Regions from separate parts of the Homo sapiens genome. Here region 1 is linked to region 2. The links are contacts of gene promoters, found by promoter capture Hi-C in human tissues and cell types (Jung and others, 2019). All regions are on one chromosome and are shown on one strand. The core of a region is centred on a gene start or on the middle of the fragment in contact, and the rest is flanking DNA. Distances in the headings are between cores, read along the strand shown.

Evidence for each region. Contacts are between HindIII fragments. The study calls those that stand out against the background at their distance.
Region 1: a contact is called between a fragment that was not itself captured here and the fragment with the promoter of LPAR1 in region 2, in 1 of the 25 tissues and cell types used here (mesenchymal stem cells).

The regions. Positions count from the first base shown.
Region 1 is chr9:110,495,713-110,498,711 of GRCh38, forward strand. It overlaps SVEP1 (sushi, von Willebrand factor type A, EGF and pentraxin domain containing 1), which reads right to left. Exons shown (of 48, transcript NM_153366.4): 8 at 1,103-1,221. Among named protein-coding and RNA genes, the nearest start is that of SVEP1, 83 kb to the right of the region's middle. The HindIII fragment of the contact is 5,309 bases long and covers 1-2,999 here.
Region 2 is chr9:111,036,491-111,039,781 of GRCh38, forward strand. LPAR1 (lysophosphatidic acid receptor 1) reads right to left here and starts at 1,980. Exons shown (of 6, transcript NM_001351411.2): 1 at 1,677-1,980. LOC124902248 (a long non-coding RNA gene) reads left to right here and starts at 438. Exons shown (of 2, transcript XR_007061732.1): 1 at 438-1,299; 2 at 2,965-3,291. RefSeq lists a silencer at 1,410-1,749. The HindIII fragment of the contact is 11,259 bases long and covers 1-3,291 here.

The sequences.
Region 1 (2,999 bases), core at 56-2,555, 540 kb before region 2:
ATACTAACCATGTACATATAAGAGGAAGTAAAATTCCTAAATGAACTATTTTTCTAACATCTGATGGATTATTTCAAGCTACTATACAAAGAAAATTAAAATACTGTGTTCTGAATAATGCTGGATTCAGACAAGCTTGAAGAAGAAACACCAGTGCTATCTCTTTCTGACTGAAAAATACACAATCATTTTGGGCCCATATTTTAAAAGATAGGTTCATAAATAGCAATTAGGATTGAGTCCACATCTTTTCTTTTCTTAAAAGATCCTCAGAACCTAGTAAAGGGCAAAGAATTCTTCGTCAAGTAATCTTAGTGGCTACAATAATACAACAAATCCATAGAATGAAAAGTTTCTGGTTTTGAGGATTTTATCTGAGATTTCTAATTAAAAATTCAAGGTTGATCATTATTCTGTCAGATGCCGCATTCACATTTACGAGTAGAGTTCATACACAAAGAGTATTGTGATGGTTAATATTGAGCGTCAACTTGATTGGATTGAAGGATACGAAGTATTGTTCCTGGGTGTGTCTGTGAGGATGTTGCCAAAGATTAACATTTGAGGAGGACTGGGAGAGGCAGACCCACCCTCAGTCTGGGTGGGCACCATCTAATCAGCTGCCACCTTGGCTAGAATAAAGCAGGCAGAGGAAGGTGAGAAGAGCAGACCTGCTGAGTCTTCCAGCCTTCATCTTTCTCCCGTGCTGGCTGCTTCCTGCCCTTGAACATCAGACTCCAAGTTCTTCAGCTTTTGGACTTTTGTACTTATATCAGTGGTTTGCCAGGAGTTCTTGTGCCTTTGGCCACTAACTGAAGGCTGCACTATCGGCTTCCCCACTTCTGAGGTTTTGGGACTTGGACTGACTTCCTTGCTCCTCACCTTGCAGATGGCCTATTGTGGAACTTCACCTTGTGATGGTGTGAGTCAATAGTCCTTAATAAACTCACTTTCATATATACATCTATCCTATTAGTTCTGTCCCTCTAGAGAACCCTAATACAAGTATTACCATGAGCATATTAGTAAGTCTTCAACACACATATCTGCAGTATATTTAGAATTCATTTGAAAAGGATGCACATAATTGCACAAACCTTACCTTTTCACCAGAGTTGTCTTTAGCTGTTGGAATCTGCCAGGTAACATTGGCAGAATCTTGCTGTTCCAGAGTCTTAGCCTCTATGTCCTTAGGACAGTTGATTTGAGGAGCCTCCACGTCTAACTCAGAAAAATACACAAGTAGATTAATACACTGATATGTGGTCCTAGATCATTTAAGGAAGAGGTACAAATCTAGTTATATTAATACACTGTGACACATTTGTACATCCCAGTTACTGATTGTTCGGAATCTGCACCCACCTGCTTTCCTGATCATTTATCTCAGCATGGCTTACGAGCCCAATCTTGAACTAGTACCTATTAACCTCTTAGCCTCATTTCTTCCTTTTCTCCTACAGGAATTCACTCTCCACATTGAGTTACTGTCAGGCCATTGCCTTTCTTTTACCTGGGCCCTTACCTATGTTCTTTTATTTGCCTGAATTAGTGCCCTCTTCTCCCTTTACCTGGATGTCTAGTACTTGCTCTTGAACAGGCTTAGACACAGCTCCTCAGGAAGCTCTTGCTGATTCTCCAGGCCCATTTGAGGTCCCCACTCCACAAGTTCCCATAGCCCTCTGGATTTCCCAACCATAAAACTCAACAAGCTATTTTGAAATTGAATTTTCTCCCCCAATAGAATTTAAGTTATTTGAAGGTCAGGATGTCTTGCCCCACTGTCTTATATGGTACCTGACATATCATAGGAGCTTGAGAAATATTTTTTGAATGAACTAAATTAAAAAATGTTGACTGTGACAGGAAGAAACTACACTTGAAAATGAGGCTGTCAACTAGAATTAACTAGCAGAAACTGAAACGTACTGTCAAAGCAAGCAACAAATTAAAGCCAATGATATTTTTTACTTTATACTATGGTGCTGAATTAGACGTGCTAACGTTACACAGATGCACGCCAGTTATGGTAGTGCTTAAGCTTTTGTTATATGATAAAATACATCTTTTATTTTAATTTATGTTAAATTAGGTCTTCTGTAACTTCTGGCTGAATATATCTGAATTGATCTCATTGTGTCTCACGTCTTCTTGTTTCTTCAAAATTTAATTCAATTTATATTTTCTCTTTCTCAAAGGGGCTTATACTTGGACAACTCTCTCCCACAGGAAGACATAATAGCATATTAACTCTGAAAAAATTTTTAAAAAGTATTTGATTTTTCATTCATGCTTAAACAATAGCTTGACTGGACCTGGAATCTAAAGTTTATATTTATTTGCTCTCCATATCCTGTACACATTGCTACATTTCCTTGTGGCATTTAAAGTTGTAAATGAAATAGGTAACGTGAGTCTAATTCTTGTTTCTTTTGTGCAATTTCTTTCTTTCTCCATGAAAAGTTATTTAAGATTTTTCCATTAACTCTGCAACTCAGAAATTTCACTAGGAGTAGTCAAAGTATGCCAACCCAACACTCAGGAGTTATTTGTGGTCTAAAGGATTAAGCCATTCTCTAGCTCAGAGAAATTTTCTTCTCTTGGTAGAGAAATTTTTCTCCATCTCCTCTCCTCTCTCCTTCTGGAACTCCTTATTAAATGGACATTGGGGTTTTTCCTTCTGCCACTGGCATCCCTCAACTTCCATCTTTTTGGTTTGATCAATTGGGAAATTCAAGCACTTTCTTTGTTTACTCATTCAGTTCTCCATTGTGAGGAAACTCTCAGTTTGGTCTTTTAAATTACTAATATAGTTTTCAACAGCATTCCTTCCATTCATCTGCCCTTGTCCTTCTCTTAGAGATAGGACATTTTTTACTTCTAAGAACTCTTTTCTGTTTTCAGTAACTCCTTTTTCATAGCGGTCTGCTCTTGTTGCAGAGAAAATGGCAATGTCCTCTTGTGAATGGAATGTGATGCCAGGTTTCAAAGTGCTGATA
Region 2 (3,291 bases), core at 730-3,229:
CCCTCCTACCTTTTCCTACTGCTCTAACACAATAAGATAACCTCCCACCGGTTTCTCGCTATTTGGGAAGCTGGAAGGAACAGCAACGATCACCAACCCCTTCCATTTTCCGGATGGGGAGACGGAGACCAGGATCTGAGCTGACCCGACTGGCTGAGGTCGCGCCGCTAGGGGACGTGGTGTACCTTGCGGGCTCGGATGATGACAACCCAGCCTTCCCTCCTCGCTCCTCGCCCGTGCCTTCCTGCCTCAAGCTACCTCCTTCTCTTGCCACTTGGTGTTTTTATCCTCAAATCAGACAAGTATCAAGAAAAAAATGCAACCTTAATATACTTACAATGCTGATTATTATTCATAATTTTGCATTTGGGGCAATTATACTCGCTCCTACTGGGATATGGAAATCAAGGGCAGAAAGAACTAGGTGACATTCTACCTCCCTGTGTATTTTAATGATGTTTAGTTTGGTTCAAATAACCATACCTCTAAAATACACCCTTTTTCCTTGGGACCCACTCTTCTATCCGGCAAGGGAATAACTTCTTAAAAAACTTCGCATTTTCCAAGTGTACAGTCTCCCCTTAACCAGAACTGCAGACTCTGAATCACAGACCTCTGGCTTACCAATTATGCTTAGCTGAGCAAACACACTTATGCAAATACGTGAAAAACAAACTGTTAGAGCCTGAAGGAATAGAGGATTTCGCTGTGATCATCAATATGTGATCATCACATTTTCAATATTTATGTTTACCAATATCTATCTAACCCCATAGGAAACGACGCGTCCATAGTGAAACAAGCCAGCACCCACATTTATGAAAAAATCCACGGATTTCAACAAAAATGAAGAGAGGAGAGCAGAAGCGGAGAGCCACAACCTCAGGCCCCAGACAGCAGGCAGCAGCAAGTCCTGAATGCCTTCACTCTTAACATTGCAAAGACCAAATGGCAGCAAAGAAAAACAAGAATAAACTTTAAATCCATTCACCACAAAGGAGTCCTACGCAAGTCAAAGGAGCCGTCGATTTCAAAACCATCAACTTTCAAAGCCAGGTCCCTCCCTTGCCTTACAACCTCCTGTTACTTGTTAAGCACGTTTGTTAGGCGGCTGGACAGAAACTTAGTTAAAAGTCCTCAGCCCGGTGGTGGGGGACAACCGAGTCGTCAGTGGGAAGCGAGAGGTGCGGAGCCCCAGGGGCGCAGGGACCCCTCGGAGGTGCAAGTCCAGCGGGACGAGGTTTTGGGAGAATTTCGAGGGCCCCTCGCAAGCCCTCCCGCGCACCCACCCCGACCCAGGTAACCGGAGGCCACCTACGTGTCACTGGGCGGGCCCCGGGGCGCACTGACCTGGCGCGGGACAGGAGGGCCGGCGGCCCGGGCGGCTGCGGCAACTTCCCTCCAGGGGCTCGGTCCGCCGCTGGGTGCGGGAGGCCAGGGGAGCCTCGCCTCCTGCAGGCCGGCTCGCAAGAACGCACGGCCACCCACCCGCGCCGCGGCCCACAGCGCGCACCCACACTCTCACTGGCACTCGCACGCGCGCCCCCAACCACAAAGCCCGTCCGCGGCGGGACAGTGTGAGCCCAGCGCGCCGTGTGGCGGGCCGAGCAGTCGCCGCGGCCTCTGGCTTCGCGCCCAGGGGGCGCCGTCCCCACACGCCGCGCCGGCCCCCTTACCTGCGCTCGCTGCCGCCGCGCGTCCCTCTCCTGCCGCCCCCGGGCTGGCTTCAGGCCGCGCGCCCAGTCCCGGCGGCCCCCGCCCCACCGCCAGCCGAGCCCGGCCCTCCGCCCGCCCCTCGGCAGTCGCCCAGAGCGGGGCCGCCCCCTGCGCCCACCCCGCCGGGGTCCCGTGCTCGGCCGGGCGGCGGGGAGGGCTCCGCGGCTCCGGGCCCTGGCCGCCCCAGATCCGGCCCGCGCTCCGCAGCGGGGCTGGAGACGGAGTCGCCACTCAGGGAGCGTCAGCCGCCAGTCGGCCCCTACTGCCCGGCTTTGGCGCGCTGGCAGGAGGAGGGGGCGCAGAGGGAGGGCCAGAGGAGCAGCGCCGACGCCAGCCTCCTCTCTTCCTCCGCCTTCCTTCTTTTCTGCTTGTTCCACGTAGCACAAGTCAGCAACACCCGAACCCCCAGAGTCCGCCCTCCCCGCTCCCAAGCTGGACCCCTTACCTGGTGTGGCGCCCCCAGCGCCCCTGACCTCTGCGCCCCCTCCTCCATTCATTGGCTCGACAGCCCACGGTGGTGGCAGGGCCGGGGCTGGGGGGTGGCCTTAGCCTCCCATTCATTATCTCAGCAGCCTCCCCCGCCCCGCCCCCGAGTCGACACACCCGCAGCGGGAGACCCGTGGCCGCCAGCTCGGGTCCCACCCCCGCCCCTCCTGCGCTTACCCCAGCGCCGGACAGCTGGCAGGACTCCGGTGGACGCCCCGGCACGGGGCATTTTCACGTTGTCGCTCTCCTCTTCCCACTCGAAAAGCTCTGGAAAACATCGCGGGGCCCGCAAAACCCCGGAAATGTGGCCTCTCTTTCGTGGCTCACTTTCTAAACTTTCCAGAAGGCGCAAAGTTTCTCCCAGCGCCGCCCTGCACTGGAGGCTGCGAAGAACGCAGAAGCGGCTTTGCTGCTAGGAAGGTGCATACGTTTCTAGTTCTGATTTTTCACTTCACTGGATCTGTAAACGAAAGCAAGTGTGTCTGCTCCCCTAGTTCTCCATATCCACGATTATAAATTTCTCTTCCGCTTTCCCAGTGTAGCTTTGCAAGTGTAAACTATCAATTTTAGTGAGAGTAATTAAGGGCGGGGACTGCACACCTGGAGGTGTGGGTGGGAGCGGCGCGGGACTAAGGCCTAGGGAACATTCTCAGGAGAGTGGCAGCCACAGGGATTCGCCCAGGTCTTATAACACACCCACTCGATGGGGTCTCCCTAGCCACGCCACCTCACAACACCCATCTCCCACTTCTGGCTTCCCAGGATTTCCGGAGTGATCACAATTATCGGCCTCTCGCTCCACAGCTAAGGCCACCGCATATCAAAAATAGCAGCGTGTGAGTAAAAGTTTCATGAGCCCTCGCCTTGAAATGGCACAGAGGACACAGCACACCAGCAGTAAGGCATGGGGACTCGGCAGGACTGATCTGATTGAGAGAAACGCAGGACAGCGAGGCGGGGCTATGTTGGTGGTGGCCACCAGGTAACCGTGGGCTTTGCAGAAGAGAAAGGTCACTGCAAACCGTAGCTGGACGGAAACTTTTCAAGCCTCAAGTGAGTTATGCTGTGACGGGACCATGACCATCTCCC